Regions from separate parts of the Homo sapiens genome. Here regions 1, 2, 3, 4 and 5 are each linked to region 6. The links are contacts of gene promoters, found by promoter capture Hi-C in human tissues and cell types (Jung and others, 2019). All regions are on one chromosome and are shown on one strand. Each heading gives the region's core, a stretch centred on a gene start or on the middle of the fragment in contact. The rest is flanking DNA. Distances are from core to core; before and after follow the strand shown.

Region 1 (4,929 bases), core at 1,261-3,760, 500 kb after region 6:
CTGCACTCCAGCCTGGGCGACAGAGTAAGACTCCGTCTCAAACAAACAAAAAAAAGAAGAAATAAGGCACCAATGAACAACATAAGTAAGATACCTGATATCATGGAGCTTATATTCCAATGATAGTGTGGGTAATAAACAAATAACAAATATAACCAGGATAATTTCAGATTATGATAAGCATTATAAATAGAGCAGAATGATATAAAAATGAGTGACTAGGGAGAAATACTTTTAAAAAATATACTATCTTGGGTCAGGCACGGTGGCTCACACCTGTAATTCTAACACTTTAGGAGGCCAAAGTGGGCCCATCTATTGAGGCCAAGAGTTCAAGACCAGCCTGGCAACATAGCAAGACCGCATCTCTAAAAACATTGAGCTGGATCCGGCTGGGCACGGTGGCTCATACCTGTAATCCCAGCACTTTGGGAGGCCGAGGCAGGTGGATCACGTGAGGTCAGGAGCTCAAGACCAGCCTGACCAACATGGAGAAACCCCGTCTCTACTAAAAATACAAAAATCAGCTGGGTGTGGTAGTGCATGCTTGTAATGCCAGCTACTCGGGAGGCTGAGGCAGGAGAATCACTTGAATCTGGGAGGCGGAAGTTGCAGTGGGCCAAGATTGTGCCACTGTACTCCAGCCTGGGCAACAAGAATGAAACTCTGTCTCAAAAAAAAAAAAAAAAAATTTTAGCTGAGTGTGGTGTCATGCACCTATAGTCCCAGCCACTCAGAAAGATGAGATGGGAAGATCTCTTGGCTCATGCCTGTAATCCCAACACTTTGGGAGGCCAAGGCAGGAGGATCACCTGAGACCAGGAGTTCAAGACCAATCTGAGCAACACAGCAAAACCTCATTGCTAAAAAAAAAAAAATCGTTTTCAATTAGCTGAGCATGGTGGTGCACACCTGTAGTCTCAGCTACTCAGGAGGTTGAGGCAGGAAGATCGCTTGTACCCTGGAGGTCAAGCCTGCAGTGAGCTGTAATCATGTCACTGAACTCCAGCCTGGACAACAGAGTGAGTCCCTGTCTCAAAAAATAAATAAATAAATGTTTCCCTTAGTGGTTTTTTTCCAATTTTATGATTTTTTTGAATAAGTAATACATACAAGTGGGACTACATAAAAAGATACATAATGAGAAGTGTTCTCCCCACTCCTATCTCCCAATCACCCTGCCTACTGGCAAACCACAGTTTGGGTTTTGTGATTTGTTTTTTAGAGACAGGGTCTCACTCTATTGATAGGCTGGAGTACAGAGGCACAATCATAGCTCACTGCAGCCTCCAACTCCTGGGCTCAAGCAATCCTCTTACTTCAGCCTCCTGAGTAGCTGGGACTACGGGCACATGCTACCACACCTGGCTAATTTTTTTATTTTAAAATTTTTCATAGAGGCAGAGTCTCGATATATTGTCCAGGGTGGTCTCCAAACTCCTGGCCTCAAGCAAAACTGCTTCAGCCTCTCAAAGTGCTGGGATTACAGGCGTGAGCCACCATGCCCAGGGCAAAACAGTTACCAATATTCTGTGTGACTTTCCAGAAACAATCAATATTCAGACAGGACCATTCTTTGTAGGACACAGGGCTAGGGTAATTCAACTAGTGTGGAATGACCAAAATAATTACTTTGCAAGAAGTCTGTATCATTATGATCTTTAATAAGACCCTTGAGATATCATTGAAGACCAAAATTTGAAAATTGAATGTTAAAAAACTGAATTTTACAGGAGGCTGAAGCAGGAGAATCGCTTGAATCCGGGAAATGGAGGTTGCAGCAAGCTGAGACCGTGCCATCGCACTCCAGCCTAGGCGACAAGAGTGAAACTCTGTTTAAAAAAAAAAAAAAAAAAAATTTGGCCAGGCACAGAGGCTCACACCTGTATTCCCAGCACTTTGGGAGGCCAAGGCAGGCAGATCACCTGGGGTCAGGAGTTTGAGACCAGCCTGGCCAACATGGCAAAACCCCATCTCTACTAAAAATACAAAAATTAGCCGGGCATGGTGGTGCACGCCTGTAGTCCCAGCTACTTGGGAGGCTAAGGCGGGAGGATCATTTGAACCCAGAAGGTGAAGGCTACAGCGAGCGGCGATCACACCACTGCACTCCAGCCTGGGAAACAGAGTAAGACTTTGTCTCAAAAAAAAAAAAAAAAGGATTTTAATGTTGTTCAGAAAAGAGATGAACACCTCATAGTCCCCAGTCAAGCACAGGGTAACAGGGGTAGGAAGAACTGCTCTACTTAAGGGACAGGTCTGTCAGACAAGCATATATACTACATGCATTTGTTTACATAGTCTCATTTTTTCTACACAAATGATGGCATACAATACACACTATTCTGTATCTTTTGTTAATTATTATATGCATTCAATAAAATGCACAAATCTTATGTGTAGAAATTGATCATCTTGATTTTTCAAATTTAACAATATACCTTGATATCATTCTTCACCAAGACTTAAAGAACTATTTCTCTTTTTTATTTGTTGTTGTTGTTGTTTTTGAGACAGGGTCTCACTCTGTCACTCAGGCTGGGGTGCAGTGGCACCATCACAGCTCACTACAGCCTCAACCTCCCAGACTCAAGTGATCCTCCCACCTCTGCCTCTTGAGCAGTTGGGACTACAGGCCAGAGTCACCATGTCTGGCTACCTTTTTTTTTTTTTTTTTTTTTTTGCAAAGACAGGATCCTACTATGTTGCTCAGGCTAGTCTGGAACTCCTGGCCTCAAGTGATCCTCCAATCCTCCTGCCTCAGCCTTCCTTCCAAAGTGTTGGGATTACAGGTGTGAGCCACGGTGCCAAGCTTAAAGAGCTATTTCATTATCTTTCTCAGCTGCAAAATATTCCACTATTTGTATGTACTGTAATTTATTTAACAAATAAATGCTTCAATGAATATTTTTATTTTTATGTCACTTTACTCACCTGCAAGTATATCTGTAGGATGAATTACCAGAAGTGGACCTGTTGGTTCAAGAGATGTGTGCTTTTTTTTTTTTTTTTTCCCAAGATGGAGTTTTGCTCCTGTTGCCCAGGCTGGAGTAAAATGGCGCGATCTTGGCTCACTGCAACCTCCGCCTCCTGGGTTCAGGCAATTCTTCTGCCTCAGACTCCTGAGTAGCTGGGATTACAGGCGTGCACCACCACACCTGGCTAATTTTTGCATTTTAGTAGAGATGGGGTTTCACCATGTTGGTCAGGTTGGTCTTGAACTCCTGACGTCAGGTGATCCACCTGCCCTGGCCTCCCAAAGTACTGGGATTACAGGCGTGAGCCACCGTGCCTGGCTGATGTGTGCATTTTAAATATTGATAAATATTAGGGAACAACTACTTTAAATAAGATGGTCCTGGAAGGCCTCTCTCTGGAGAGGTGATATTTGAGCCAAGACCTGAATAATGAGAGGTAGGCAATCATACTAATTCTTGGGAAGAGTATTCTGGGGAAAAGGAGCATCAAGTGAAAAGGCACTGAGACCTTTTCAAAGAAAGAAAGAAAGACAGTATGGCTAGATTTCAGTGAGCAAGAAGTTGGGTAAGAATGAGAGGTAGGCAGCAGCCAAATCACGTAGAGCCTTGTAGGCAATAGTAAGAAGTTTGAATTTTACTGTAAGTGGATCCCTGGTTTCCCTTGGCAAGTTCAGGTCCACCTCCACGCTTTTGGCCACATCATTGCCCCTGCTCAGAATATTCTCCCTCCTCCTTCAGACACCAGCACCATCTGGCTCTCCCTTAGCACCACAGACCATTGCTTCCCCTCTCCTTCCTTACTGCACAGAGCACTTATGAAGGAGGTAACTGAAACCTAGAGAGATTATTGGTCACACAATAATAAGTGGCAGAGCCAAGAATAGATGCTCAGGTCTTCTGATTTCAAGTCAGGACTCTCCCTCATAGTGTGAAGGACAGGGACTGGCAGGGAAGCCAGGCCTTTTCTTACTAACAGAGGTCACACAGAAGATTATCAGCCTTTTTCCAGTTCCTGGCTCGATGAGTCAGTAGGCTTTAACCCTCCTAGGGATGAGAGAAGCCAAACACAGGGAGCTTACTAAAGTGGGAAAGAACAGGGAGAGAGGAAGCTGGCAAACGGCCCTGAATGCCAGAGGCAGAAAAGCCATTTCCTTAACTGGCTCACTGACAAGTGCCACAGGAACTTCAGAACGTCTCCGGTTATGGCTGAATGCCAACATATACATACCCAAGCACATGTGTCCCCATATGCAAACCACATACCAACTCACCTATGTGCGCTCACTTGTATAAAATCACATATAAATATACAAACATTCTAGGCATAAAAGCTGCCCATCTGCACACATAGGCACAAACAAGGATAAATATATGCACCCAGGATTCAAACATGGACTTATCTGTATCTGCAAGTACAACCACCATATACATGTAGCCACCTATGTGCACAGTGTGCCCCTTCAGAAACTCTCTATCAAATCATTCTGTTTTGCCAGGTGCCACACATGTAATCCCACACTTTGGGAGGCTGAGGTGGGTAGATCACTTGAGGCCAGGAGTTTGAGACCGGCCTGGCCAACATGGCGAAGCCCCAACTCTACTAAAAAGACAAAAATTAGCCGGGCATGGTGGCGCATGCCTGTAAACCCAGCTACTCAGGAGGCTGTGGTGGGAGGATCACCTGAGCCCAGGAGATGGAGGTTGCAGTGAGCTGAGATTGCGCCATTGCACTCCACCCTGGGTGACAGGGCAAGACTGTCTCAAAAAAAAAAAACACATTCTGTTTTATTTTTTTCATGAAACGTTCCATTATTTGAAATTATCTCATGTATGTTAATTACTTATATATTATCTGTTTTCTTCACTGGAATATAAGCTCCATGATAGCAGAGATCTTTTTTTTTTTTTTTTTTTTTGAGATGGAGTCTCGCTCTGTCACCCAGGCTGGAGT
Region 2 (4,456 bases), core at 792-3,291, 430 kb before region 6:
GCCAACATAGCGAAACCCCGTCTCTACTAAAAATACAAAATTTAGCTGACCGTGGTGCACGTTGGTAATCCCAGCTACTCGGGAGGCTGAGGCAGGAGAATCGCTTGAACTCAGGAGATGGAGGTTGCAGTGAGCTGAGCTGGCACCACTGCACTCCAGCCTGGGCAACAGAGCAAGACTCTGTCCCAAAAAAGAACAAGAAAAAAAAAATCATTCTCAGACAAAACTTGGTCAGCCTGAGGCCCAGCAGTTAGCAGAGTATTAATAAATATCTGAATAACTTCATCAAATGAAAAGTCAGGCTGGCCTAATAGTCAACCCTACAGTGGCATCAAGAGGCCTGACTTCCCTAAACACTCACTTCAGAGATCATGGAGACCACACACACCCTAGTGGAATGTGCTTACAATGGTATCACTGGGACCCAGACTCTATTCTCCAGGTGCCAGGATCCTGACCGTACATATTATCCTCATAACTCTTTGTCTGCCCTTTTACTAGCAAAATTGAGCCTCTATTAGTCAAGTTCCCCATCCTGTCTCTTCACATGTTCAACTCTGGCAAATGAAACCCAACTCAGTGCTCTAAATTCCGGCATCCCAGTTTCCACTAGCAACTCCAATGTTACAGACCACCCTCAGTCACCTTGCATCTAGAAAGCACATTTTTTAAAGTTTGTTAGTGTTCATTTAATTTCTAAGCTATTCACAAATATTCAGGACTATGTCATCAATTATATTAGGAACTCCTAGACAGCAAGTACCTGCATACTTCCAGGCAGAGTGACAGATGAACTGTGACTGTTTTAGAAAACAATGACTGAAATTCAGGGGGTAAAAAGTCAAACTATCTTTTTTGTCCAGTTTTCTTTACACTTATAATTTCTACCCAACTCCTGACATAGTGATTAACTTGAATAAAGCGGATACCTAGGCAGTAAATAAATACTGAAAATATACTATCAAGCTCTGATATTACAAACATCCCCCCCCACCACCTAAGTCATGAGTAAAAACAACTACAACTCAAATGCCTTACCATCCTTGTTAACAGCAGTGACTTTGGCCGGGTAAAAACGACAATCAGACCAGCAAGCAAGGACCTGCTCATTTATTTGAAATTCCTAAAAAACATAAAAAAAAAAAAAAGATCCTGTTACCAACCTAATTTCACAGGACATACAGGACATACCAGATCTCATAAAAGAAGCTGGGATTGATAAGAAAGTGTGAAGGGAAAGTAGCTGTTGAGATGGAGGAAGATATTTCTGTTGTTCAACACTAGGAGTTGCTATAATTTCGGTGTCATTTGTCCTCACCAAAAGTAAACGTTTTCAGTGCAGCAGTGTTGAAAATGGGGCCTATGAGAGGTGTTTGGGTCATGGTAGCAGATCCCTCATGAATAGATTAATGCTGTCTCACAGGAGTGACTTCTCGCTCTCCTGGGAATGGATTCATTCCCAAGAAAGCAAGTTGTTACAAAGCAAGTCTCCTTCTGTTTGGTCCCTCTCTTCACACTTGTCTCCCTTTTTGACCTTCCACCATGTATGACACAGCATGAAAGCTGATGCCAGAAGCCAGTACCATGCACTTGAACTTCCCAGCCTGCAGAATTGTGAGCTAAACAAACCTCTTTTCTTTATAAATTACCTAGTCTCAGGTATTCTATTATAGCAACACAGAAAAGACTAAGACAGGAGTCAAAACAAAAGGGCTGGGACACAAGACCTCAATAAGCCCAAGAGGTCTGGGCAGGCACAGAACAGCACTGATGATAATTCCACCCTAACCAGCATACATTCTGAAAATGAGTCTAAGAGGCCAGGACTACTAGAATACACATCCAGTATAGGAGTCAGAAGATATGAGGCTACTTCATACTCAGGGAAGCAGCATTTAATGCCATCTACACTTCTAAAGGGTCTTTTGCCAGGGAAAGCAACCATTCACCTTTAATATTTTATACTCTTTTCCCAGCACACAGTTTGCACTGATAAATTTTGTACAATGGGCCAGGTGCAGTGGCTCACACCTGTAATCCCAGCACTCTGGGAGGTCAAGGTGGGCAGATCACCTGAGATCAGCCTGGCCAACATGGTGAAACCCCGTCTCTACTAAAAATACAAAAATTAGCCTGTGTGGTGGCGGCCACCTGTAATCCCAGCTTCTCGATGGCTGAGGCAGGAGAATCACTTGAACCCAGGAGGTGGAGGTTGCAGTGAGCCGAGATTGCGCCATTGCACTCCAGGCTGGGTGATACAGTGAGACTCTGTCTCAAAAAAAAAAAAAAATTTGTAGAATGAACACTGAAAAGTCAAATGGAACAATACTGAATAATCCTTAATTGGGAAAAAGAAAAAAAAGGCCAGCAATAGTTCAAGTTCCCTAATAGGGTTAAAACAGAAAATAAGCCGGACACAGTGGCTCGTGCCTGTAATCCCAGCACTTTGGGAGGCTGGGGAAGGTGGATCACCTGAGGCCAGGAGTCTGGCCAACATGATGAACTCCCACCTCTACTAAAAATACAAACATTAGCCAGGTGTGGTTGGATGCGTCTGTAGTCCAAGCTACTCAGAAAGCTAAGACTCGAGAATCACTTGAACCCGAAAGACAGGTTGCAGTGAGTCAAGATCATGCCACTGCACTCCAGCCTCGGCCATACAGTAAGACTGCCTCAAAAAAAAAAAAAAAAAGAAAGAAAAATAGAAGGCAGGGCTGAGTCTGAGTCAGATCCAAAAGCAGCAGGACCATTATAGATGTCTCAATGCCTGTTTAAAAACCTTAAAACTAGCCAGGCACAAGGGCACACGCCTATAATCCCAGGACTTTGGGAGGTACGAAGGATCTTCCTTCTTTGGCAGAAAGATCCCTTAAGGCCAGGAGTTCAAGACCAGCCTGGGCAACATAATAAGACCTTGTCTCTACAAAAAAAATTTTTTAATTAGTCAGGCACAGTGGTACATGCCTATAGTCCCAGGTACTCAGGAGGCTGAGGAAGGAGGATTGCTTGAGCCCAAGAGGTCAAGGCTACATTAAGCCAAGACTGCACCACTGCACTTCAGACTGGGCGACAGAGCAAGAAAACGTCTCTTTAAAAAAAAACAAAAAAAGATGAGTTAATGGGTGCAGCACACCAACATGGCACACGTATACATATGTAACAAACCTGCACATTGTGCACATGTACCCTAGAACTTAAAGTATAATAAAAAAATTAATAAATAAAATTAAAAAAATAAAACAAACTGTTATTACAGGAACAGAAAAAAAAAACACCATAAATGAAGCTTCAAAAGATATGCTAATTGAAGTAAGTCAGACCCGAAATGTTACATACAGTATGATTTTATTTCAAATGAAAAACCAAACAAAAATAGGACTATAAACAGAAAATAGATAGATCAGTGGCAAGCCAGGGTCCAGAACTGGTCCAGGACTGGCTGGTGAAGACTGAATGAAAAGCAATTTGAGGGAGAGCTTCTTTTTGTCATAATGAAAATATTGTGTATCATATGGCAGTGGCTATCTGACAATATAAATTTGCAAAACTTATTAAACTATACAGTTTAAAATGGGTGATTTTTATATCACAAATTTAAATGCTTATTAAATTTAAGCTTATTACACAAAACTTATGAAATCATACACTTAAAATGGGTATAGCTAATTTAAATAAAGTTAGTTAAAAAACAAGAGTCTATAGTGCCTTCACCCTTGTTTTAATATGATAAAATTTCTAAAAATATTCTAAATTAGGGCTTAATCTGTAATCTTAAAATATCATTATTTTATGATTTCTTTGCTTCTTTTCTAAAGTTGATAACCCTCTTTGGACTCGATATCTTCTTCTTAGGATGAACTTTATATTTTATTGTTTCAGCCTGTGTGTGTGTGTGTGTGTGTGTGTGTGTGTGTGTGTGTGTGTGTGTGGTGATGGTGAAGAAAAATGGGAGATTCTCAGGGTGGGAATTTTATAATGACAGAGTGAGGAGCTTGACAAATCTTTGGCAAGAAAGCAAAAATAAAGCTGGACAACATTATCAAAAAAAAAAAAAACCAAAAAAAAAAAACCGGCTGGGCGCGGTGGCTCACACCTGTAATGCCAGGACTTTGAGAGGCCGAGGCAGGCGGATCACGAGGTCAGGAAATCGAGACCATCATGGCTAACACAGTGAAACCCCATCTGTACTAAAAATACAAAAAATTAGCCAGGTGTGGTGGCACGCACCTGTAGTCCCAGCTACTCAGGAGGATAAGGCAGGGGAATCGCTTGAACCCAGGAGATGGAGGTTGCAGTGAGGTGAGATCGAGCCACTGCACTCCAGCCTGAGCAACAGAGCAAGACCCCGTCTCAAAAACAAACCAAAAAAACGGCTCTTGAGCTACTTGCTTGAGCCCGCTCCCACTCTGTGGAGTGTACTTTCATTTCAATAAATCTGTGCTTTCACTGCTTAAAA
Region 3 (4,409 bases), core at 208-2,707, 360 kb before region 6:
AGCCCGCAGAAGCACAGAGAAAAGTGCCGTGCTGAACAAAGATACGCACTCGCCAGAGGAAGAGGAAATGGGTGCACTGACCAGACTGGGGAAAGCACCTCAAGGGGAGTGTGGCTCCAAAAAGGGAAGGAAACTGAGGAATGAAAATGTCTTGGATGACAGAAAAGCTAAACAGGGTAGGAAGGCATGCTCAAAACCACAGACCACTCGCCACCTGGAAATGAGAGGACTCACAAAAAGGTGTGCCCCCCAAATTTAAGAAGCATCTGGAAAGTGGCTGCACTCTGAGAGTTGTATAACTAAAAGGGGTTCACCTCGTACATTTGGGGGGCACAAGAAACAAATATACTCCCAGATATGAAAATGAGTCTCCTTCAGGAAATAAGGTAGTTTGATTTGGGGAACACGTGAAAAGTGTGTAACCCCAATAATACAGTCTCGGGAGAAGGCAGTGAATTCCCTTATTTGTGAAACTGGAAATAAGTACCCATAAACTTCAAAATTTGGACATTGTTTTCGGCCCAACCTCAGGTTTGAAGGGCTGAGGAAAGGAAGTGGCCCCTAAATGTAAGAAATTCCAGAAGGCATGCTGTCAGATTTGGGACCTGGAAAAGGGGAATTCTTCCTTGGAGTAGAGGGGATACAAGAAAGTATCCCAAAACTTTAGCTAATGGACCCCAGATCTGAGGACCCGATAACAGGGTGAACCTCTAAATTGGAACGGAAATGCAGAATCAAATTGGAGGCCCGAAAAAAGGAATGTGCTCCCACTTTGGGGGCTGACGGAAGAGGGTACGCCCTAAATTTGGGGGGGGGAGGGCTTTTAGAAATTTAGATAAAATTCCAGAGCTAGAGCTTAAGAAAGGGGGTGTGCCGCCCAGTTTTCAAAACTATAGAGAAAAGGGACACTCCCATATTTGGGGTCTTGAGAAAGGAATGTGCTCCCCAGAATAGGATAAAAAAAGCCAATTTTAAAAAACATATTCCCAAAGCGCAAGGCAATAGCAGAGGCTGCTGATGAGGCTCTAGGTGCCCACACAGCTCAGGCTCGGGCCCTAGGGCTTACCCGCACCCCCAACACGGCCCGCTCCGCGCCCCGGGCCCGCACCCCACGGCCCAGCCCCCTCGGGCGGCGCTGATTGGCGGCAGCCGCCGCCACTCTTGCGGGTAGCCCCGGGGATTGGGCACCGCTCGCACGCCCGCCACGCTCTCAGCAGCAGTCCCAGGGCCTCCCTCCAGGCTGGGCGAGCGGGGCCAGGCGGGGAGCGGGGCCGGGCAGGGGACCGAAGCAGCGGTGGCGTCCGTCGCCGTCCCCGCCCGCACGGCGCGCGCGCAGCGCGGGCCCGGCCCAACCCGGCCCGGCCGGCCGGCTTCGCCTGGCCGCGAGCTCACCTCACGGCCCCACTCCGGCTGCGCCGCTCCAGGACCAACCGACAGAAGGACTCTGCGTGCTCTGCACCACGTGACCCCCGGGACGCGCCCAGCGTATGCCCCGCCCCCCACACACACGCATCATCGCCACCACCGAGTGACGTAAGGTCCCAGCTGCCCCGCCCCCTGCCCCGTCTGCCCGATCACTGTGGCAACGGCCTGCGCAGGCCACGCCCACTACCCTGACGCGCGGGAAACAGGCCCGCGCCCTAGCAGGAACACGAAGTCCCCACTCACTCGTAATCACTGAGATCACCGAAGCCGGGGAATGGACGCTATCCATCACCCGTTAATTTTGCCACCTAAATGCGTCTCAAAGCTTCCCATTTCTCCATCGAAGCGACCACCATCTCTCTCCAAGATGAAGATGGTTTCCACCCTATTACTCTTCGCCGTTCTAATCCATTCTTCGTACACCGGCAGAGAGGTCTTTTCAAAACGCCATCCCCTGCTCAAAGCTCGTTTCCCTCCCTACTCCGGATTAAGATCTAACTCTTCACCTAGACTATCTACCAGGCTCTTCAAAGTCTGGACCTGACCTGCTGCTTTCTTATCCTCACGAATCCAGCTCCCCCACATTCTCAGTGTCCTTCAACTCCGCTAACAATCCAGGTTCTTCTCATCTCAGAGCCTTTGCACTCATTTCTCCCCCACTTTATCATTAACTCCTAGAAAGGTTTCCAATTGCTGCTAAGGATAAGGAGCTGTATTTTCTCTGGGGACGAAGGTCGGAGTTGAAGCCACCCCAAAAGAATATGAGACCAGGAGCAGTGGCTCACGCCTGTAATCCCAACACTATGAGAGGCTGAGGTGGGTAGATCACTTGAGCTCAGGAGTTCGAGACCAGCCTGGGCAACATAGCTAGACCCCCGTCTCTCCAAGAAATACAACAATTAGCCAGGCGTGAACGTGCGCACCTGTGGTCCCAGCTCAACCTTCTGAGTAGCTGGGACTGCAGGCCCATGCCACCATGCCTAGCTAATTTTTTTTTTTTTTTGAGACACGGTCTCACTGTGTCACCCAGGCTGGAGTGCAGTGGCGCAGTCTCGGCTCCTCATAACCTCCACCTCCTAGGCCCAAGCAATTCTCCCACCTCAGTCTCCCAGATAGCTGGAACCACAGGTGTGCACCTGGCTAATTTTTGCATTTTTTTGTAGAGACGCAGTTTCACGATGTTGCCCAGGCTGGTCTTGAATTCCTGGGCTCAAGCAGTCCACCCACCTCAGCCTCCCAGAGTGCTGGAATTAACACCGTACTTGGCCACTTTTTTTTTTTTTTTTTGAGATAGAGTCTCGCTCTGTAGCCCAGACGGGAGTGCAGTGGTGCGATCTTGGCTCACTGCAACCTCTGCCTCCCGGGTTCAAGCAATTCTTTGCCTCAGCCTCCCAAGTAGCTGGGATTACAGGCGCACGCCGCCACGCCCAGCTAATTTTTTATATTTTTTTTAGTAGAGACGGGTTTTCACCATCTTGGCCAGGCTGGTCTTGAACTCCTGACCTCATGATCCGCGCGCCTCGGCCTCCTAAAATACTGCGATTACAAGCGTGAGCCACCGTGCCCGGCCGAGTTTTTTTTTTTTTTTTTTTAGAGACAGGGTCTCACTTTGTTGACCAGGCTGGTCTCAAACTCCTTGGCTCAAGTGATCCTCCTGCCTCAGCCTCCAGAAATGCTGGAATTACAGGCCTCAGCCAGCAAATCCAGCCTGAGGGGTGCTTTTTAAACCAGGGCTGGAAACTAAGGAGGGTATTGCCTCAGTTGAGGTAGTCAGGGCAAAGAGCAGCCCTTAGGTAGAGACACTGTGGAACCAGGGACAAAAGCTTCAGCTACACTTGCTTGGGCAGTACATGTATTCTATTAAAATTGTAACATGGCTGGGCGCGGTGGCTCACGCATGTAATCCCAGCACTTTGGGAGGCCAAGACGGGCAGATTACCTGAGGTGAGGAGTTCGAGACCAGCCTGGCCAACATGGTGAAACCCTCTCTCTACTAAAAATGCAAAAATTAGCCAGGTGTGGTGGTGCATGCCTGTAGTCCCAGCTACTTGAGAGGCTGAGGCAGGAGAATGACTTGAACCCTGGAGGCAGAGGTTGCAGTGAGCCGAGATAGCACCACTGCACTCTAGCCTGGGTGATAGAGCAAGATTCCATCTCAAAAAATAATAATAAAATAAAATAAAATTGTAACAATACAGAAAAGATTCACATGACCCCTGCATAAGGATAAGCATGCAAATTCATGATACATTTCATACTTTTTAAAAAATCAGCAATTTGAGAATCAGTGCCACTCAGTCAAGTAAGTGCTCACATATAGGAAGGGCCTTCCCAAGATCCTCTGGGTTTATGTTTATTAATATGAAATTGCTCAGATGTCAGTGGCTATGGTAGCACACAAAGAACTTTTTGCCCCCCAACCACAATAATGCCAAGAACTCCAGACTCTGTAGCCCCGTATAAATATAGCATGTTTCTTTACTTATTCAACCTGCATTTACCGAGAGTCAAATTCAAGATGGGCACCAAACACTCAGAGCACAATGAGACTTAGGCCCTGCTCTCGAGGAGCTCACAGACTGGTGAAGTAATCATGGCAAGCAAAAGAGAAATATGTTACAAGGGCCCCTGAGCTACAACAGGAGTGCAGGCTTGGAAAACAAACAGGCACAAGGACAGCTCCACCAAGAAAGAGCAACAACAGCTGCTGCCCCCAGCAACACTGCGCACCACTGCTGTGATTCAATCTTAGTATCCCTTTGTCTTTGAGTCACTCACTCAAGAGGCAAGGTCTTGGCCAGCAGCCACTGTCGATTGGCCAATCTCAGGTCACATGGATGAGTCCAGCCTGCCAGGGAAAGAAGAGAGGAATGACCTGCCCCTAAGGGTACTCCCCAAGATGGGAAGTGAGGGTTGGAAGGAGACTGACACTGATCAGGGAAAAATAACTGAATACAGATGAGAAAAAAGTACCTTGTGAGCTA
Region 4 (4,375 bases), core at 1,273-3,772, 270 kb after region 6:
CTAGTGGCCATGTTCAATGATAATAAAAGGGTATCAGGCTGAGCATGGTGGCTCACACCTGTAATCCCAGCACTTTGGAAGGCCGAGGCAGGCAGATCACCTGAGGTCAGGGGTTTGAGACCAGCCTGGCCAATATGGTGAAACTCCATCTCTATTAAAATACAAAAAATTAGCCCAGCATAGTGGCACATGTCTGTTATCCCAGCTACTGGAGAGGCTGAGGCAGGAGAATTGCCTGAACCCGGGAGGCGGAGGTTGCAGTGAGCCGAGATTGCACCATTGCACTCCAGCCTGGGTGACAAGAGTGAAACTTCATCTCAAAAAAAATTATAAAGAAATAATATCAGTGACTAGTTAGTATGTTTCTGTAGGGCTTAGTACAGACATGTATTAATTCTTCTAACAACTTCTTGAGGTTAGTACCTTTACTCCTTCTTATCGTTAAGAAACCTGATGCTTAGGGATGGGCACAGTGGCTCACGCCTGTAATCCCAGCACTTTGGGAGGCCAAGGCGGCAGGACTGCTTGAGCACAGGAGTTCAAGACCAGCCTGGGCAATATGGTGAAACCCCGTCTCTACCAAAAATATAAAAAATTAGGCATGATGGCACATGTCTGTGGCTCCATTTGTTAGGGAGGAGGGTGAGGTAGGAGGATTGTTTGAGTCAGGGAGGCAGAGGTTGCAGTGAGCCGAGATCGCACCACTGCACTCTGGTCTGGGTAACAGAGTAAAACCCTGTCTCACACAAACAAAAAAAAGATATAAAAGAAACCTGATGCTTAGAAAGGTAAAAAGGGCCAGGTGTGGTGGCTCATGCCTGTAATCCCAGCACTTTGGGAGGCCAACATTGCTCAAGTCCCAGAGTTCGAGGCTGTGATGAGCTATGATCACACCACTGCACTCCAACCTGTGTAACAGAGCAAGACCCTGTCTCAAAAAAAAGACTTGGACTGGTTCAGGTCAAGTACCCACTCCACAGCTAGAGGGATGGGATCAGCCTCTCCCAAACCACAGGAGTGACTGCCGGGGAAGAGTGATTCCTCGAGGGTAAATTGAGATGTTACTATCAAAAGAAGAGAGATTGAGATTGCATTTGGCTAACGGTTTAAATAAAGAGGGTTTATTTTCTCAAGTAAAAGAAAGTCTAGAGGTAATTTCTAGCATTGGGTCAGCTACGCAACTGTGTCATTAGAGACCAGCCTCTTTGTAGCTTTGCATTCTAGTATCGTTAGTGTTTTGGCTTTTATTCTAATGCTTAGTACGTCATGGTCTCACATAGCTGCCATCACTTCAGAAATCGAGTCTGAGTTCAAGGCAGAAAGAGAGAGACTAAAAGCCATGTTAGCTGTGTTTGTCCCTTGGTATTAAGAAAACAGAAGCCTTCCCAGAAGTGCCCCCAGTAGACCTCTCAAGGGTCAGAATTGACTGGGTAACACAATCAACTGCAGCAGCAAAGGAGGCCGAGAAAGCTTCTGGATTTCCAACCTCTGGTGGGAGGCCATGAGGTAAAGAGGGTAGGAATGAATTTGTTTTGGGCCAACCAACCTGTTCTGTTTTCCACAAGGTTGAAGGTGACAACTGGTATCTACTGCAAATGTCAAACTAAGACTTTTGGCCAGGTGCGGTCGCTCACACCTGTAATCCCAGCACTTTGGGAGGCCAAGGCGGGTGGATCATGAGGTCAGGAGTTTGAGACCAGCCTGATCAACATGGTGAAACCCCGTCTCTACTAAAAATACAAAAATTAGCCGGGCATGGTGGTGCATAATCCCAGCTACTCGGGGCTGAGGCAGGAGAATCGCTTGAACCCAGGAGGCGGAGTTTGAAGTGAGCCAAGATCACGCCACTGCACTCTACCCTGGGCAGCAGAGCGAGACTCTGTCTCAAAAAAACGAAACAAAAAACCTAAGACTTCTATGCGTAGTTTGCGTTCTTTATATTGTGTCCATTTAAATGACAACATCGTGACTCTTAATTGGGACCTAGGAATTTACTTAACCAGTCTCTTGGTATGAAGTCTCTAGATGATTTCTAGCTCTCAGTGTTTTCTTCTGCTGTCACCAATCCTAGGACAGAAACTGGAGGTCTTAAGTGGAATTAGTGAGGGCCACATCAACATAGGATCCCAGACTCTGAATCTGCCTCCATGCATGTAAGAGCCTCATTGTCAGGTCTCTTTTTTATTTCCAGATTTTGGGGAATGTCTCAGAATTCCAAAGAGTGGTTGAAGTGCTCCAGGACAGCGTGGACTTTGATATTGATGTGAACGCCTCTGTGTTTGAAACAAACATTCGAGGTAAGGGCTGCTCTCTAGGACCTTTAAAAGAAAAAAGAGTGTGAAGTTGCCTCTGTAAACCAAGAAGTGGTAAATAGGATTTTAAGGACTGACCATGCCAGGACCCTTGGCCAAAACCTCTGACCGACAGAGCTCTTCTTCCCTCCTGGAGGGTGAGGTGGGGAAGTCTCAGGATTTCCCCATCAGTTTCAGATATGAAAGTGAGCAGGAGACTAAGAGACTGGAAAGAAATACACCAGATTACTCACCTCTTTAATATGTATTTGATACTAGGCATACAGCTATGAACAAGAAAGATATGATCCTTGCCTTCTTGGAACTTATTGTCTGTCCAATCCAATTTTCTGCAGTGATGGAAATGTCTTATAGCTGTGTTTTGTCCAGTATGGTAGCCACGAACCACATGAGCTATTGAGCATTTGAAATGTATCTACTACAACTATGGAATTGAATTTTTAATTTCATTTAATTTTAATGATATTAAATTTAAGTAGTCACATGTAGTTAGTGATTATTGTATTGGACAGTGCAAATCTACAGCATTAATCTTCCAAACTTGGCAGCCCATAGGAACCACTCCCAAGTGGTTAAAAAATTCAGATGTTGAGACTCCACCCTAAACCTAATGAATTGGAATCTCTGTGTTGGGTCCTAGAATCAGTATTTTTAGCAGACTTCCAGTGATTCTTGTGAAGCCAGCACAGCCCTTATTTGCATCGAACCTCTAGACCACTTAACAGCTGTCACCTCTGGATGGCAGAGTTCTATTTTTCCCCATTATTTTGTATGTTTTCTGCAATGAAACTTATATTCCAGACATATGATCCATAAAAGATTAAAAAAGAGAAGAGAGCAGAGGGACAACATGGTCTAAAATCCTGGTTTAGGAATCCGGCCTGAGTTTGAGGCTGTACTTGCTGCTATGTCTCCCAGCTTCTGAGCCCAGTTTGTCATCTGTAAATGAAGGTCATTCTTATACCTTTATTTCTGATAGGAATATAAGTGATACCAGCTTTCTTTTGGTTGACATTTTCCCATGTATCTTTTTCTATCCTTTCCATCTTTCTGTAGTTTTATGATTAGATACATCTTTTGCAAATAGTGTATTATATTTTGTTTATCCATTCTGACAATCTTTAACTGGCACATTTAATCCATTTACATTTACTGTAATTACTGATATATTTGCACTCATTTCTACAGTATTGTGCTCTCTGTGCCGTCTTCTTTTTTTTTTTTTTTTTTTTTTTTTTGAGGCGGAGTCTCACTCTGTCGCCCAGGCGGGAGTGTAGTGGTGCAATCTTGGCTTACTGCAACCTCTGCCTCCCGGGTTCAGGCGATTCTCCTGTCTCAGCCTCCTATGTAGCTGGGATTGCAGGTGCCTGCCACCGTGCCCTGCTAATTTTTGTATTTTTAGTAGAGATGGGGTTTCACCATGTTGGCCAGGCTAGTCTCGAACTCCTGACCTCAGGTGATCCGCCCCCCATCAGCCTCCCAAAGTGCTGGGATTATAGGTGTGAGCCACTGCACCTGGCCCTGTGCCATCTTCTTTATGTTCCTTTATTCTGTCCTTTTTCATGCCTTCTTTAGATTGTTTTCCCCCCATTCCATTTTCCTCTTACTAATATGGAAATTATGCACAATATCTAGCTTTTTACATAGTTTTCCAAGCAAATTTAACAAACATAACTTATCAAAGTCTAAATTTAATGAAAATCTTTGTTCTCCTCCTGAATAATGCAAAACCTGACTTAGAGAACATCCTGACCTATATGCTACAGTTATATATTTTAGTTATTTGTTTTAAACCTTCCATACATTATAATTTTTGTTCTATATTGTTGAAGTTTTGCATTTACACATAAATTTACCACTTTTTTTGTTGTTGTTGGTTTGAAATAGAGTCTCACTCTGCCACCCAGGCTGGAGTGCAGTGGCGCGATCTTGGCTCACCTCCACCTCCTGGGTTTAAACGATTCTCCTGCCTCAGCCTCCAGAGTAGCTGGGATTACAGTTGTGCACCACCACACCAGGCTAATTTTTGTATTTTTAGTAGAGATGGTGTTTCACCACATTGG
Region 5 (4,755 bases), core at 2,042-4,541, 320 kb after region 6:
AGGCCTGAGCCACCGCGCCTAGCCTCAGCTAGTTTCTACGGAAAAGGCTGGCAGAGCAGAGGTGAAGTGGAAAAGAGTGTCTTTCCACAGAGGTTTCTGGAAACATGTCCCCTTACTTCATGGTCACATGGTATCTGTAAGGACTGAATTTGAGGTTGTCATTTTTGACCCAGTGAATACCCAGCTTTGGTGAATGCCTGGGCCAGGCTAGACTGACAAAGATAGGAACTGAGGAATGGAAAGTGACATTTGCAGTTGGGTCAAAGCTGAGGTGGGAAGATTTGTCCCTAGCATGATGAGTGCCAAGGGAAACCTGGAGGGCCATGTGAACTGTGAAATTAGTCAGGATCCTGTCTCCTCACCGCGACAAGGGTGAGAATATCCATCACCATATGCCTCAGGAAGAGCTCTGGGTGGAATCCCTGGGCTGTGGATTCCCTGGTAAGGCTGGCTGCTGCCCGGACAGCTCACCAATGCCCTGTTTGTATCCCTGGAAATGCCTTTTCTTTTTATGTCTTTTTAAAGTTAATTTCACATATTAGAAGACTTTTTTTTCTTGAATCTAGAAATGATACATAGCTGGTGCAAAAAGTTATGAAAAGTATTGTTATTGAACCAAAGTGAGGGCTGCTTACCTGGTGCAGCAAAGCCACTGACATTGGGATTACAGCAAGAGAAAGTGAGGCATTTATTATTGCACTTGCTGCAGGGTGCCAAGCGAGGAGAATCAAACAGCTTATGCTTAAGACCTGAACTCCCTTATGGCTTACAGGGGTTTTATTTTATTTTTTTGAGACAGAGTCTTGCTCTGTCGCCCAGGCTGGAGTGCAGTGGTGCAATCTCAGCTCACTGCAACCTCTGCCTCCTGGGTTCAAGCGATTCTCCTGCCTCAGCTTCCCGAGTAGCTGGGATTACAGGCACGTGCCACCATGCCTGGCTAATTTTTGTATCTTTAGTAGAGACGGGGTTTTGCCGTTTTGGTCAGGCTGGTCTCGAACTCCTGACCTCAGGTGATCCACCTGCCTCGGCCACCCAAAGTGCTGGGATTATAGGTGTGAGCCACCGCGCCCAGCCGGCTTACAGGTTTTTAATGGCAGGAGGGCAGAGGCCACAGGCGAAGTCATAAATCAATACATAGGGGCTGTATATTGGTTCCACCTAAAAAGACAGGACATCTCCAACCAGGGGCCCACAAGTGGATTCAAAGATTTTCTGACTTGTAATTGGTTAAGGAGGTAAAGCTTTGTCTAAAAATTTGGGATCTGCAGAAAAGAATGTTAGCTCTGACTTATGGTCGTGTCCTCCTCCAGGCCCCCTAGGAAGAAATTTATAACAAAAAATAGAAGTCAAAGTTTAGTTCTCAGCTCTCCCTTATCTGAGTTTGCCTATCAGCAGATCCATTTGGTGGGGGTTCGAGTTTCTAAGAAACAACACTCAGGGACAAATTTTAAGATGTTATATTCAGTTTCTATAGGGAACAAAATATCTCCTGACTGTAACTTCTTTGGCTATTTTTTTTTTTTTTTCTGAGATGGAGTCTCATCCTGTCATCAAACTGGAGTGCAGTGGCGTGATCTCGGCTCACTGTGACCTCTGTCTCCAGGGTTCAAGTGATTCTCCTGCCTCAGCCTCCCAAGTAGCTGGGACTACAGGTGCATGCCACCACGCCCAGCTAATTTTTGCATTTTTAGTAGAGATGGGGTTTCACCATGTTGGCCAGGCTGGTCTCGAACTCCTGACCTCATGATCTGACTACCTCGGCCTCCCAAAGTGCTGGGATTACAGGTGTGAGCCACTGGGATTACAGGTGTGAGCCACTGCACCCGGCTGAGTTTATTTTTGTATAATGTGAGAGATGAGGATCCAGTTTCATTCTTCTGCATGTGGCTTGCCAGTTATCACCAGCTGTTGAATAGGGTGTCCTTTCCCCACTTTATGTTTTTGTTTGCTTTATCGAAGATCAGTTGGCTATAAGTATTTGGTTTTATACTGTGTTCTCTATTCTGTTCCATTGGTCTATGTGCCTATTTTTATACCAGTACCATGCTGTTTGGGTGACTATGGCCTTATTGTATAGATTGAAGTCAGGTAATGTGATGCCTCCAGATTTATTCTTTTTGCTTAGTCTTGCTTTGGACATGCAGGCTCTTTTTTGGTTCCATATGATTTTTAGGATTCTTTTTTCTAGTTCTATGAAGATGGATGGTGAGTCTACTCCTTTTAGATGGGGTGTGAGGATGGTAACCATAGTGCCAGTTCACCTGGGAGAGTCACTTTTATGCCTACCGTCCCGGTGTAATTATTTATTGTGTCTTTTCATTCTTTAAAGTGTTCTGGTTTGAGCAGTAAGTTACAGTCATCTTAGTTATGAGTCACAATCTTCACCATTCCCTGTTACATCACACTTAGCTCTCCTCTTTCATTTTTATTACAGGCCCCCTGCTAGGAAGGGAAAAAGTGTGTGTGTGTTGGGTGGGGGGAGTCAGTGCCATCCTGCCACAGAAGTTAGCTGAAAAAATGAGTATTAGAGACAACATGCTATCTGGTGGATAGAAATTAGGACAGGGTTTTCATCTGACAGAGAATATGATGTCACAATTTACTAATCCCTTTCCCTTCCATTATTTAATTTCACAACAACCTACCCAGTTACACAACTTATCCAGTTTGAGACTGCGTTTCTTTGTGTATGGATCTGCTGTCTTCCCCTGTAACCTGCATTTCGTGATAAAGGATCCCAGGCCGTTCTGCTCACCACTGTATCCCAGACACCCTCCCTTTCCCCTAGACATGGTTTGGTGTCGGGCGCAGAGAAAGCCCCAGGAACTACGATTGATCAGGCTCCCAGAATCTATAGATGGAGTGACCTGACGAGGACACAGGCGCAGTGGCAGAGCGCGATGACTTGGTCGATGTCCGCGGTGAGTCACGTGTAGAGAGAAGCAGGCAGGAAGCGGACTCGAGGGCCTGACTCCTGACCTGAAGCCCAGGATCATTTCTTGGCCAGCTGCCTGCATCCTGCCCAAATCGGCGAGAGAAATGGGAGAATGTGGACCTTGGGAGATTTCGCCGAAATGCTGGGCCCGGGGGCCAGAGAAACCGGCAGTGCAGGAAAGGCCACATCTCTTTTCCCACCTACCCCGCTGCCGCGCAGGACTACAATTCCCAGTAGCCTCCACGCCGCACACGGTCCCTGCCACGCGGCTTGCGCCTCCGCCGACGGCCCACTGGGGGCGCTGCGGCGACCCCTCCGCCGCCCCGTAGAAATCTCCGCGGCCCCGAGGCCGCTTGCTTCCTGTTTGTCCGACGAGGAGACATGGCGGCGGCGCCGGTAGCGGCTGGGTCTGGAGCCGGCCGAGGGAGACGGTCGGCAGCCACAGTGGCGGCTTGGGGCGGATGGGGCGGCCGGCCGCGGCCTGGTAACATTCTGCTGCAGCTGCGGCAGGGCCAGCTGACCGGCCGGGGCCTGGTCCGGGCGGTGCAGGTACGAGGCTGGACCAGGAGGGGCGGGGCGGGGCGGACCAGGCGGGAGCTGGCGGGGGGCCGGGGAAGAGGCCTTTCCAGGCCGCCGCTGGACGGGCCAAAGCCCTTTTGGCTGGCCGGAAGGCCTCCCTGTGAGCTGCCCGGACGCTCTCAGCTGCAGCGGGGCCGTGGGAAGCAGCTGGCTTGATGTCCCTTGTCAGGGGCCGAGCGGGGCTGGGCTGCTGTGGACACTGATGGCGTGTACGAACCCTGGGCCCAGTTTCTGGATCCTCCCTTCTTTGCGCCACGTCTACACGTCTGGGGGACCCTGTCGTGTTTGTTTTAGCCTCTGTGGGCCTCGAGTTTATCCCGTGTATTGGGCGTGGGGGAGGGGGTCATCATTGCAGCCCCCAAATGGTTCCCGAGCATTTCATAAATGTCATTTTCTCAGGCCTTTCCTTGACACTCTTTCCTTCCCCTTTCTAAAGTAGGTCCCCATTGTTATTCTGTCACAGCCGCGAATTCGTTTCGTTTACATTACTTTCTTAGTCTATAATTTCGTATTTCTTTGTTGTCTGCCTTTTTCTCGCCCGTCTCCCACATTAGGCTGAGTTCCAGCGGGTGCAGAGACTATATCTGGTTTGCTAGTGTAGAGCGTCACGGTTAAGAGGGACTCTGGAGTCAGGCCTGGGTTCAAAGCCCTGCTCCTCTCTCTTGCTTGGGCAGGTGACCTTTCTGTGCCTCAGTTTCCTCACTTGTAAGATGAAGATGAGAATTAGTAACCTACCTTTTAAGATTGTTGTGGAGATCAAAGGGGGCAATTGTGTAAAGCATTAGTGCATTTCTGGTGCATACTAAGGGCTGAAGGTAGTTAATATTAAGCATCTGACTTATAACAGGTGCCCAACATATGATTATTGTTATTTTTGAGTGAGCGAAGGACACTGCTTTAGGGTAAACCAGGTTGAATAGGACCTAGTCCACTACTTCTTCCACCCTCCCCCACCCCGAACCTTGCTAACACCTGTAAAACATTAGCTTTATTTAAAGACAGCTTTTTCATAAAAAGTTTGAAGGATACTCAAGAAACTGATAAAGTGGTTGGTGGGAGTGAGGTGGGAATTGGGCTAAAGGGGGAGAAAATGGGAGTGAGACTTTTCACAGTGTAACTTTATTTAAATTTAATTTGAATATCACTTCCTCAAATGACGAAAAGGATAGAATAAAATAAAGGCTAGGGGGTCTGTGTGTATGGAGGACTGTGGACGAAAGGAGCAGTTGTGAGTGAGAAAT
Region 6 (4,602 bases), core at 487-2,986:
GTGGAGGTTGCAGTGAGCCGAGATTGAGCCACTGCACTCCAGCCTGGGCGACAAGAGTGAAACTCTGTCTCAAAAAAAAAAAAAAAAAGAAAAAAGAAAACATCCTGTTGTACACAATATATATTTTTTGTCAATTAATAAAAATCAATAAATTTAATTAAAAAAATAGTCGAGTGAAGTTATTTCCCATGACTAGCTCCTCTTCTTCCTTTAGATTTCATCTTACATGTCACTTTCTTGGAGAGGCCTTACCAACCTAACCAAAGTAGCTCCCCAGTTTTAATTTTTTTCACTGGGTTCCTATGCCTCCCCCACCAGTCTAAGAACTCCATGAAGCCAGTATGTCTTGTGTTCAGCACATAGGGAAGACTCAATAGGTCTTTGTTGACTGAATGAAATGAAAGAAGTCCTTCAACATCCTGCCCCTCTGCTCCCTCAACCCCCAAAGCACCAGTACTTTGTCTTCTCTTCTCTTGGGATGTAATGGAAGAGGAGTCTTCTACCAAGGCCGTTCTCTGCCACTTTCCTCAAGAAGCTCCTTGCCTCTTTGATTGATTCTCCTGTATACTCTTTTTTTTTTTTTTTTTTTGAGACGGAGTCTCGCTTTGTCACCCAGGCTGGAGTTCAGTGCCCCAGTCTCAGCTCACTGCAACCTCTGCCTCCCGGGTTCAAGCGATTCCCTGCCTCAGCCTCCCAAGTAGCTGGGATTACAGGCACACGCCACCATGCCCGGCTAATTTTTTTCGTATTTTCAGTAGAGACGGGGTTTCACCATATTGGTCAGGCTGGTCTTGAACTCCTGACCTCAGGCAATCCACCTGCCTCGGCCTCCCAAAGTGTTGGGATTACAGGCATGAGCCACCGGGCACGGCCCTGTATACTCTTCACTAATCTTTTCCTATCAATATGCAAAGATGTTTCCCTTAAACAACCAACCAACCACAAATCCCAAAAGTTTCTTCCTCTACCAGGCTTCAGATCGGCACATGACCGCCTTCTTGCCTTGACTTTCAGGAGTCTGGTATCCCCCGTATTCTTTTATCTTAGCCTCCTTCTCTGGCTTTTTTTTTTTTTTTTTTTTTTTTTTTTTTGAGACAGAGTCCAGTCCTGCTCTGTCGCCCAGGCTGGAGTGCAGTGGCGCGATCTCGGCTCACTGCAACCTCTGCCTTCAGAGTAGCTGGGATTACAGGCACACACCAACATGCCCGGCTACTTTCTTTGTATTTTTAGTTAGGGACGGGGTTTTGCCATGTTGGCCAGGCTAGTCTCGAACTCCTGATCTCAGGTGATCCGCCCGCCTCGGCCTCCCAAAGTGCTGGGATTACAGGCGTGAGCCACCGCGCCCGGTCTTCTGGCTCTTTCTAAAGATTGGGATTTCCTAAAGTCCTGTTCTTTTCAACCTCCATTGAAAAGTGTTGGGGTGGAGTTTGGGAAGGAGGGGCTGAGGAGTGAGGCTGGGTTAGGTGGGGAATAAAGAGAGGGATATGAGAAGCCCCGAGGTCTGGGGTCAAGGAGACAGGCGTGGGGGAAGGATTTGAACCACTGTTACGTGTAGTGGGGGAGACAGCAGGGAGAGCGTGCCCGGGCACGACAGCCTGGTGCACAGCCGAGAAAACAACAGCGCGTGCGCGTAGCGACCTCTTTGCGCCTGCGCCCCCCTTGCCAGTCTTTCGCCGGCAAAAGGAGGACGTAGAAAAGGGGACACCGGAAACTCACTCTTCACCCGGAAATGGTTATTGAGGAACATGGCGTTGCTGGTGCGAGTCCTTGTGAGTGAAGGAGTAATTTTCTACGGTAGCTCTCTGGGTCCCGGGTTGGAGTTCGACAAGGCAGGGCGGGAGGAATTGGAAGGAATCGCAGGAGGGAAGCCTGTGTTATAGCTAGGCTGAGTGGCCGCTTTTCCGTGGGGAAACTGAGGCAGCTTCCGACCTCTTCCTACCCCGTTTTGACCTTAGCTCCCCCATCTTTCGAGAAGGGGAAGACTGACATCTGGCCTTTATTTGATGGGGTTTACTTTTCCTTCCCTCCCCCATGTACCTGCTTCCCCTCAGGGAGAGGAGCATGTAGGACACTGATTGGAGTTTCAGGAGGCCTGGGTTCTAGTCCCTGACTGTCACTGATGCATAGTGACTTTAAGCAAGTCACTTTTGGGCCTCATTGACCCTATGTGAAAAACGAGGACATTTATCTCCTGCAGTCCCTTTAGATTCTGAGATTCTCAGGGTTTCTTTCATAGGTAATAAGTCAGTTCTTAACTGTACAGTTAAGTGGAATATAGATTATTAGATTGAAAGCTGCGTGAGAATTGGAGTCATGTCTGTCTCCGTCGTTTTCACTTTGCCTAGCATGGTGTCTGGCACATCATAGGTGTTAAATGATTACTTGTTGAATAAATGAATGAAGTAAGGAAAGACTACCAGACTCTTTAGCACCCGTGTGTGAAACTACTGCACCTCTTGAGATTTAGTCCTGACCCTTCTAGCATACTCTTTTCTCTAGCAATTAAAGGAGAAAAGAAAGTGGCAGCAGAAAAAACGTTAGGATACAGAGCTTAGTTTTTAATCATGGAGGGATGGGAGAGTGTATAGTTTTAGCGAGTCTTCAAAAACTGGGTCAAAGACACTGTTTTTCATAGTAGACATGGTCTATTCCTGTGTCTAGGTAACTTCTGAATTGTTATTTTACATTTGTGTTTTTGATCTTTTTATATATGTCTTACAAGGACGACAGTTTTACTTCTTGTATTCCTTGCCAGCCTAGCAGAGTGAGGTACCCTCGACTGCTGTTCAGTAAATATTTATTTGTAGAGTAGCCCCTGTAACTGCCAGAAAGATTCACCTGGTGAAGTGATTGTTTGATTTCAGGCCAGAAATTGATTCAGAAATGAGGACTGCTGGGGAAATGGCAATTAGAATGTTCTGAATTTAGTGGTTTTTTTTTTTTTTTTTTTTTTAATCCTTCCCCTGCCACCCTTTAGGGTTTTGTTTTTTTTTTTTTTTTTTTTGAGGCAGAGTCTTGCTCTGTCGCCGAAGCTGGAGTGCAGTGGTGCCATCTCGGGCTCACTGCAACTTCTGCTCCCGGGTTCAAGCAATTCTCCTGTGCCAGCCTCCCGAGTAGCTGGGATGACAGGCATGCACCACACCACACCTGACTAATTTTTGTATTTTTTTTTTTTTTGAGATGGAGTCTCGCTCTGTCACCCAGGGTGGAGTTCAGCGGTGTGATCTCGGCTCACTGCAACCTCTGCCTCCTGGGTTCAAGCAGTTCTCCTGCTTCAGCCTCCCAAGTAGCTGGGATTACAGGCGCCTGCCACCACACCTGGCTAACTTTTGTATTTTTAGTAGAGATGGAGTTTCACCATGTTGGCCAGACTGGTCTCGAACTCCTGACCTCATGATCCGCCTCCTGCGGCCTCCCAAAGTGCTGGGATAACAGGCATGAGCCACCGAGCCTGGCCTGACAACTATCATTTTATAGGGCACTTACTACGTGCTAAGCACTTTAAAATACTTACCTAATCCTTATAACATCCCTTTGGAAAGGAGGGCGTGTTATTTCCTCTATTTTACAGATAAGAAAACTGAACCACAGAGAGGTATTCCTGGCCAGGTGCCGTGGCTCACACCTGTAATCCCAGCACATTGGGAGGCTGAGGTAGGTGGATCACTTGAGGCCAGGAGTTCAAGACCAGCCTGGCCAACGTGGTGAAACCCTGTCTCTACTAAAAATACAAAAATTAGCCAGGCCTGGTGGTGGGCGCCTGTAATCCCAGCTACTCGTGAGGCTGAGACACGAGAATTGCTTCAACCCAGGAGGCGGAGGTTGCAGTGAGCTGAGATTGTGCCACTGCAGTCCAGCCTGGGTGAAAGAGTGAAACTCTGTCTGAAAAAAAAAAAGAAGTATTCCTGAAACATTCTTGTTAGTCTTGCTTTATTTTTTCCTCTTTTTGTCTTGTCAGCCAATATTTTCCCTTCTCCAGTGATGGTTTTGGGAAGGAGGAGGAAACTAAAACACTGCTATTGTTGAATGACTACAGCAGAGAGCCTGGACATTTGATCAGTGGAACTGGACATGCTTATGGTTTTTATGAGTTGTCCTGGGCATTGCTGATCATTTCTGCTTTTCTTTGGAAATAGTAAAAATTGCAGAAAGCCACCCTGTACTTTAGAAAATTAAAAAAAAGTTGTGGTAAAATACATGTAACAAAATTTACCTTTTAAACTTTTTTTTTTTTTTCTGAGACGGAGTTTTGCTCTTGTTGCGCAAGCTGGAGTGCAATGGCGTGATCTTGGCTCACTGCAACCTCTGCCTCCCGGGTTCAAGCGATTCTCCTGCCTCAGCCTCCTGAGTAGCTGGGATTACAGGCACGTGCCACTACGTTCAGCTAATTTTTTGTATTTTTAGTAGAAATGGGGTTTCACCATTTTAGCCAGGCTGATCTTGAATTCCTGACCTCAGGTGATCTGCCCGCCTTGGCCTCCCAAAGTGCTGGGATTACAGGCATGAGCCACTGTGCTTGGCCACCTTTGAAACTTTTTAAGTGTACAGTTCTGTGGTATTGAGTGCATTTACATTGTTGTGCCATCTTTACCACCCTTATCC

What was found. Contacts are between HindIII fragments. The study calls those that stand out against the background at their distance.
Region 1: a contact is called between a fragment that was not itself captured here and the fragment with the promoter of UQCC1 in region 6, in 1 of the 25 tissues and cell types used here (dorsolateral prefrontal cortex).
Region 2: a contact is called between a fragment that was not itself captured here and the fragment with the promoter of UQCC1 in region 6, in 1 of the 25 tissues and cell types used here (small bowel).
Region 3: the fragment with the promoter of PHF20 here is called in contact with the fragment with the promoter of UQCC1 in region 6 in 1 of the 25 tissues and cell types used here (bladder).
Region 4: a contact is called between a fragment that was not itself captured here and the fragment with the promoter of UQCC1 in region 6, in 1 of the 25 tissues and cell types used here (IMR-90 fibroblasts).
Region 5: a contact is called between the fragment with the promoter of TRPC4AP here and the fragment with the promoter of UQCC1 in region 6, in 1 of the 25 tissues and cell types used here (aorta).

What each region holds. Positions count from the first base shown.
Region 1 is chr20:34,906,949-34,911,877 of GRCh38, reverse strand. All of the region lies in intron 2 of ACSS2 (acyl-CoA synthetase short chain family member 2), which reads right to left. Among named protein-coding and RNA genes, the nearest start is that of ACSS2, 33 kb to the right of the region's middle. The HindIII fragment of the contact is 4,448 bases long and covers 287-4,734 here.
Region 2 is chr20:35,844,017-35,848,472 of GRCh38, reverse strand. PHF20 (PHD finger protein 20) reads right to left here. Exons shown (of 18, transcript NM_016436.5): 4 at 1,039-1,123. Among named protein-coding and RNA genes, the nearest start is that of PHF20, 74 kb to the right of the region's middle. The HindIII fragment of the contact is 7,233 bases long and covers 1-4,456 here.
Region 3 is chr20:35,769,063-35,773,471 of GRCh38, reverse strand. PHF20 (PHD finger protein 20) reads right to left here and starts at 1,457. Exons shown (of 18, transcript NM_016436.5): 1 at 1,393-1,457. It also overlaps the pseudogene LOC124904972. RefSeq lists silencers at 1-5, 1,010-1,389. The HindIII fragment of the contact is 9,618 bases long and covers 1-2,499 here.
Region 4 is chr20:35,140,295-35,144,669 of GRCh38, reverse strand. MMP24-AS1-EDEM2 (MMP24-AS1-EDEM2 readthrough) reads left to right here. Exons shown (of 15, transcript NM_001355008.2): 8 at 2,192-2,297. It overlaps EDEM2 (ER degradation enhancing alpha-mannosidase like protein 2), which reads left to right. Exons shown (of 11, transcript NM_018217.3): 4 at 2,192-2,297. Among named protein-coding and RNA genes, the nearest start is that of EDEM2, 4.9 kb to the left of the region's middle. The HindIII fragment of the contact is 7,283 bases long and covers 1-4,375 here.
Region 5 is chr20:35,091,343-35,096,097 of GRCh38, reverse strand. TRPC4AP (transient receptor potential cation channel subfamily C member 4 associated protein) reads left to right here and starts at 3,291. Exons shown (of 19, transcript NM_015638.3): 1 at 3,291-3,484. The coding sequence starts at 3,317. RefSeq lists a silencer at 3,390-3,519. The HindIII fragment of the contact is 9,696 bases long and covers 1-4,755 here.
Region 6 is chr20:35,409,107-35,413,708 of GRCh38, reverse strand. UQCC1 (ubiquinol-cytochrome c reductase complex assembly factor 1) reads left to right here and starts at 1,736. Exons shown (of 10, transcript NM_018244.5): 1 at 1,736-1,769. The coding sequence starts at 1,746. RefSeq lists enhancers at 1,501-1,550, 758-1,580, 1,681-1,830, 1,891-1,990, 1,581-2,404. The HindIII fragment of the contact is 20,339 bases long and covers 1-4,602 here.